Regions from separate parts of the Homo sapiens genome. Here region 2 is linked to region 1. Evidence: promoter capture Hi-C in human tissues and cell types (Jung and others, 2019). All regions are on one chromosome and are shown on one strand. Each heading gives the region's core, a stretch centred on a gene start or on the middle of the fragment in contact. The rest is flanking DNA. Distances are from core to core; before and after follow the strand shown. Region 1 holds the start of KLB (klotho beta). Region 2 overlaps PDS5A (PDS5 cohesin associated factor A).

Region 1 (3,054 bases), core at 13-2,512:
TATTAGCTAAGTTAGCTATACTTAACAACAAATACATATTTGAAATGGTTGTGCCTTAAGATAATTCTGAAATGATTGCATGTTGTCAGAAAAGGGTTCCAACAATTAAATTTATGAAGCACTGTTTTCCCACAGAATGAAAGTAAGCTCATATATTCACACTGTAGTGTATAATGGTAGATTTAAAAATAGCCTCAAAGTGCAACTTTTGAAAAAACTAATTGGATTAATACATTAAAAATACCTTAGATAAATAAAACATACACTAACTTAAATGCAAAATTTGAGGATAGATCTTTTGAATTAGCTTAAAATCAGTTGCCTTGATTTCAGTGAAGAGAATTACTGAGGCAGAAGGTAAATTCTTAAATTCTTAGTGTTTTCTGAAGCTATAAGAAGAAGCTAGCTGTACAGTACCTTGATCAAGTTGTGTCCCACAGTGTAGACAGCTGCTAAATTTCCCTTCTCTCCAGGGGCATGCATACCTGTCCCATACCCATGCCAAGCCACTAGATATGGGTTGTGAATTGTAATCCAATATTTGACACGGTCCCCAAACATCTGGAAACAGTATGTGGCATAGTCATTGAAGATATCTATTATGGTATCATTTTTCCACCCCCCATATTTTTCTTGTAGTGCCAAAGGCAAATCCCAGTGGTATAAAGTAACTATAGGTTCAATGTTTCTAAGCACTAGAGCGTCCAGAAGAGTACTGTAGTACTGCAGACCTTTTGCGTTGGCAACTGTTACTATTCCATCGGGGAAAAGCCTTGGCCAGGAAATTGAAAATTGATAAAAAGAAACTCCTATAAAATCCAGGGCTGATAAGTCTTTTTCCAGAAAAATATAACTGTCACTGGAACCATTCGTGCTGCTGACATTTTTAAGGTGTGTGTGGATGAAATGATCCCATATAGAAGGTCCTTTTCCATCCTTCTTCCAACTCCCTTCCACTTGCAATGCTCCAGTCCCAATACCCCAGAAAAAGTTTTTAGGGAAAGTGTCATAGAGAAACAGCTGACTTTCATTTACCGGAGTAAAATTAGGATTTTTAGACCATATAGCTCTTCCATCTCCAGAGAATCCAGTAACAGCTCGTAGCAGAATAAGTGCTGACAGGATGACAGATCTTTGCAATCCCCCGTTGGACATTGTATTCCTATAGCGTGTGGTTATTTCATCAGTGCTGAAGAAAATCCATTCATTCCCTGGAGATCCTGCCGCACAGCCTGGCTTCATTTGCCACCAACTGCTGGACTGTCTTATCAAAGCTTCAGTAAAAGCTTGTGATTGTAAAGCTCTGTCAATGATTAGCTTGAACTGGGAGACTGAGGATGGGTCATAGAGAGCAACGTAATTTGAGGGAGGTGGCCCTATTGCAGTCACCAACGCGTCTCCTTCTCTCTCATTATGGAAAAAATTAGATGAAAATGCATCGGTGACAAGAGTTTGAATGTGTAACTAACACATATGTAAACACTGGATTAAAATCACATTATTTTCCGTGTAGCCTTTCATATTGACCCAAATCTTTTCTGAATGTTTTGAACATTATTGAATAAGGTATATAGCTTTTCTATTTTTAGAGTTTTTGTGTGGTAATTTTATAATCTCATATATCAAGAAAAATAACATATACAAGTATATAGCATTCCTACATACCAATAGTAAAGAATTAGAAAACACAATAAGAAATTACACTTCTCCACAAAATTATAACGCATCTAAGAACAATCTTAATAAATGTTACCTATTTTAGGAAAATTGCAAAAATGTATTGGTAGATTTGAGAGAAGACTTGAATGAGAAAATATAGCACTTTGTGGATGGAAAAATGAAATACTTTTCAATTTAATACATTTAACTTAACTAAAATCCTCTAATCTCTAATTTTATTTTTTATTTTATTTATTTAACTTAACTAAAATTCTCTAATCTCTAATTTTTTAATTAATTAATTAATTTTTAATAAGAGTCTTGCTTTGTAGCCTAGGCTGGAGTGCAGTGGTGTCATCACAGCTCACCGCAGCCTCAACTTCCCAGGCTTAAGCAATCCTCCCTCCTCAGCCTCCAAGTAGCTGGGACAACAGGCACATGCCACCATGCCCAGCTGATTTTTGATTTTTTGGTAGAGGTGGGGTCTAGCTATGTCCCCCAGGCTGGTCCTGAACTCCTGGGCTCAAACAGCCCTTCTGCCTCGGCCTCCTAAAGTGCTTGGGATTATAGGTGTGAGCCACCATGCCTGGCCTAATCCCAAATTTTAGTTCAAGAAAATTATTACGAAAGGCCAGGCACAGTGATTCATGGCTATAATCCCACCACTTTGGGAGGCCAAGGCAGGCAGATCACTTGGGGTCAGGAGTTTGAGACCAGCCTAGCCAACATGTTGAAACCCCGTCTCTATTAAAAATACAATTAGCTGGGCACGGTGGTGGGCACCTGTAATCCCAGCTACCTGGGAGGCTGAGGCAGGAGAATCTCTTGAACCTGGGACGTGGAGGTTGTAGTGAGCTGAGATCGCACCACCGCACTCCAGCCTGGGCAACAGAGCAAGACTCGGTCTCAAAATAAAAAAAAAAAAAAAAAGAGAAAATTATTATGAAAGTTCCCTTGAAGAATAGGCAATATTTATTTTTAAAAAGGAAAGAAAAACCTGAAAAAGAAAATAGCAAAGGCATAGACTACCTTCAGCATGATTCTGGAATAAAGATAAACATACAGAAAGAAATACATGCACATACAGAAAGAAATATTGTACCAAATCGATAGCCTCCAAATAACCTGTAAAAAATTTAATGTTTTACAGCCTGGGGAACATAATAAGGCCCCATCTCTACAAAAAAAATTAAAAACTAACCGGGTGTGGTTGTGCATGCCTGTAGTCCCAGCACTTTAGAAGGCCAAGGTGGGAGGATTGCTTTGAGCCCAAGAGGTCAAGACTGTAGTGAGCCATGATTGCACCACTGCACTCCAGCCTGGGTGACAGAATGAGACTCTGTCTCAAAAAATAATAAATAAATAAATAAATAAATGTTTTAAATATTTGAAGTA
Region 2 (2,949 bases), core at 246-2,745, 470 kb before region 1:
TAACTTTGGATGTGAGGAATAAAATACCTTATTCATAAGACCAATGGAGAAGAAAGGAGATAATCACTGGAAAGCAGAAAAGCACAATGCTAAAGACCTCAATAACAACTCTGATGGCATCACTAGATTATACTGCTCTAGAAAAAACAAGAAGAAAGGTTAAAGTTGACTTTCTGTATTATTTTATTTGGCTAATAATAATAATACATTTAACAACAGTTTGATTGAAACTATCTTCCTTTGTCATTCACCAGTGTTATAAGAAATCTCAGTCTGGTAAATGGAATGGTGAAAGACTAAACAGATAGGAGAGAGGAAAGACATCTTCCATTTAGAAGCATAGTCAATACTCAGTCAAGGAAGTCTGTTTGGTCATGGACATCCCTATCTCATAATTCCAAAGTCCATAGAGGCAAACTTCAGGCATATTTATACATGTCAAATCAGATTCATACCAACTAGCATATGTTCCCATTTTTGGTTAAAGTGCATGGCCTGGAGCCTGCAGTATAGGTTTCATATGTAGCCTTCCATTATCATAAGAGGGCATTGTCACCCTTGCATTTGATGCCACTAACTTTATAAAATAGGCTCTTCTCTAATAACATTAAATATATGACAAATATCTTTCCTTAAATGTTTGTTTCGTTTTATCAATTTTATTCTGATTATAAAAATACTTACGTTCATTGTAGCAAACTGAAACTAGAAAAAATATAACGAAATAGTCACCATTAACATTTGATATATATACTTTCTATGAATGTTCATCTACTAGATGTGTTTGTCTATTTTTTATAAGTTCATATATGCACACTATTTTCTTCATTCTACCTAATGCTTTTTCATGTCATCAACATTTAATTTTTGAAGAATGCTTTATGTTTTTCTGTCATCCTAAAAGAAGACTGTTTTAGTTTACTCTTCATTGTCAGTGTAGAGGTTAAGTATGTGGATTTTGAAAGAAATGCTAATTTTCAAATCCCAACTCCCAGTTTCCTAGCTTCGTCATCTTAGGAGGCTTAAATAACATCTTTGTGCTTTAATTTTCTCATCTGTGTAATGACTATGATAGTCTTCTTTGGGTGGATGTGAACATTAGTTGAATTAATCCATGCGGAAATACCTAGAATGGTGCCTGGCACATAATAGTTAGATATTTTTATTGCCATTCTACTGATATATATGTAGCTGTATCTTTGCATACTTTCTTTCACTAGTATTATTTCAGCTGTTTAATACAACTTGGCCTTTTGCTACTCTCTTTCTGTAGCTACTTTGAAATAACTGAAGGGGATTATAAAAGGGAATTGAAAAATTAGCAATATTGCTACTTAGAAGGTAAATGCAAAAATATGTCATGGGGTAAGCTTTAGATTATGAATTAAGGGTTGCTTGTTATTTTGCATATTTGTGAGGTAACTTTAAAATAAAAATTGTCTCCTGAAGTAGGCTTTTTCTTGAGGCATTGTATTTCTTGGTTTATACTTGGGGGCAGAGATGGAGCTTTTTTACAACTTTCTTTAGATCAGATAATTTTTAAGAGAGCCTTCTCTACTAGCATCCATCCATATAGGGGAAGTGGAAGTCAACCAAAGGAATACTTGTTGGTTTATGGGTTTAAGAAAAAAAAACAACTATATTATTTTTTGCAGGACCTTAATTCCCATTTTACATCAAAAAGCAAAGAGGGGTACTCCACACCAAGCAAAACAGGCTGTGCACTGTATACACGCCATATTCACAAATAAAGAAGTCCAGCTTGCACAGATTTTTGAGGTATATCTAATATATAGGTTGTGTTTATATTGGTCTTTATTTTTTAAGCTCTATAGTTTGATGAAGATGGAAGCTAGATTTTTTAAAGCTGTTTATATGAAGTCCTACCTTAGACTATAAATTCCTTGTGAGCAAGGATTCTGTCTATTTTATGTGGTACTGCATTCCCAGCCTGTAGATCAGATTATATGTTCAAACACCTCATATTGAAGGGTTTTGTGGTTTTTGTTTTTTAGTTTGTTTTTGAGATAAAGTTTCACTTTCTCACCAGTGCTGGAGTACAGTGATGCAATCTCTGCTCACTGCAGCCCCGAATTCCTAGGTTCAAGCAGTCCTTCTGCCTCAGCCTCCCAAGTAGCTGAGAGTACAGGCACCACCACCATGCCTAGCTAATTTTTGGATTTTTTTATAGAGATGGGGTTTTGCCATGTTGCCCAGGCTGGTCTCAAACTCCTGGACTGAAGCGATCCACCCACTTCAGTCTTTCAAAGTGCTAGGATTACACACATGAGCCACCACACCTAGCCTTATGTGTTTATGTTAGAACATTTTACTTAATTTTAGCCTTATTGGTTCAGTGGTGCATTTATCCTCGGAAAGTATTAGTAGATAATTTTGAACAATCCAGTTTAAAGTACCTAAGAACCCTACCTGAAAATTAATCCTGTTTCCCTTTTTTTTACATATAATGACTGGCCTCATTTTACTATTAGAAATGTATTCCTATTATCATAAATTGGAGATAGTGTGACCAAAACCCAGTGAACTCTTACTTTGTATGATTTAAGGTCATTTAAAATGCTTCCACAGGGTAAGAAAACCACTGGTATAGCAAATCCATTGTTGTAGATTAGTCAAAAATAATGCTGATTTGATGAAGCAAAAATGTTTTTCTTTAAACTTCTTTTTGTTGGATTTTATTTTTTCTTTTATCTTTTTTCTACATTCTTTCAATCTTGCTAAATTTTAGTAGGTGAATTAAGAACCAGGTGTCTTAACATGGTTGAAGTTAGTTATGATCGTATTAGAGAAGATTGGTTTGGGCATGGTAAATTCAGGAGGACTCAGGAAAATGTACTGTTTCAGTAGAGTGTCTAGATATTTATCAAACAAATTGGTAATTTTGTCTGTTTTATTTTTATAGCCACTCAGTAGGAGTCTGAATGCTGA

Evidence for each region. Contacts are between HindIII fragments. The study calls those that stand out against the background at their distance.
Region 2: a contact is called between a fragment that was not itself captured here and the fragment with the promoter of KLB in region 1, in 1 of the 25 tissues and cell types used here (thymus).

What each region holds. Positions count from the first base shown.
Region 1 is chr4:39,405,138-39,408,191 of GRCh38, reverse strand. It overlaps KLB (klotho beta), which reads right to left and starts at 1,262. Exons shown (of 5, transcript NM_175737.4): 1 at 418-1,262. The coding sequence starts at 1,242. The HindIII fragment of the contact is 19,436 bases long and covers 429-3,054 here.
Region 2 is chr4:39,873,119-39,876,067 of GRCh38, reverse strand. It overlaps PDS5A (PDS5 cohesin associated factor A), which reads left to right. Exons shown (of 33, transcript NM_001100399.2): 20 at 1,656-1,779; 21 at 2,924-2,949. Among named protein-coding and RNA genes, the nearest start is that of PDS5A, 100 kb to the left of the region's middle. The HindIII fragment of the contact is 9,111 bases long and covers 1-2,949 here.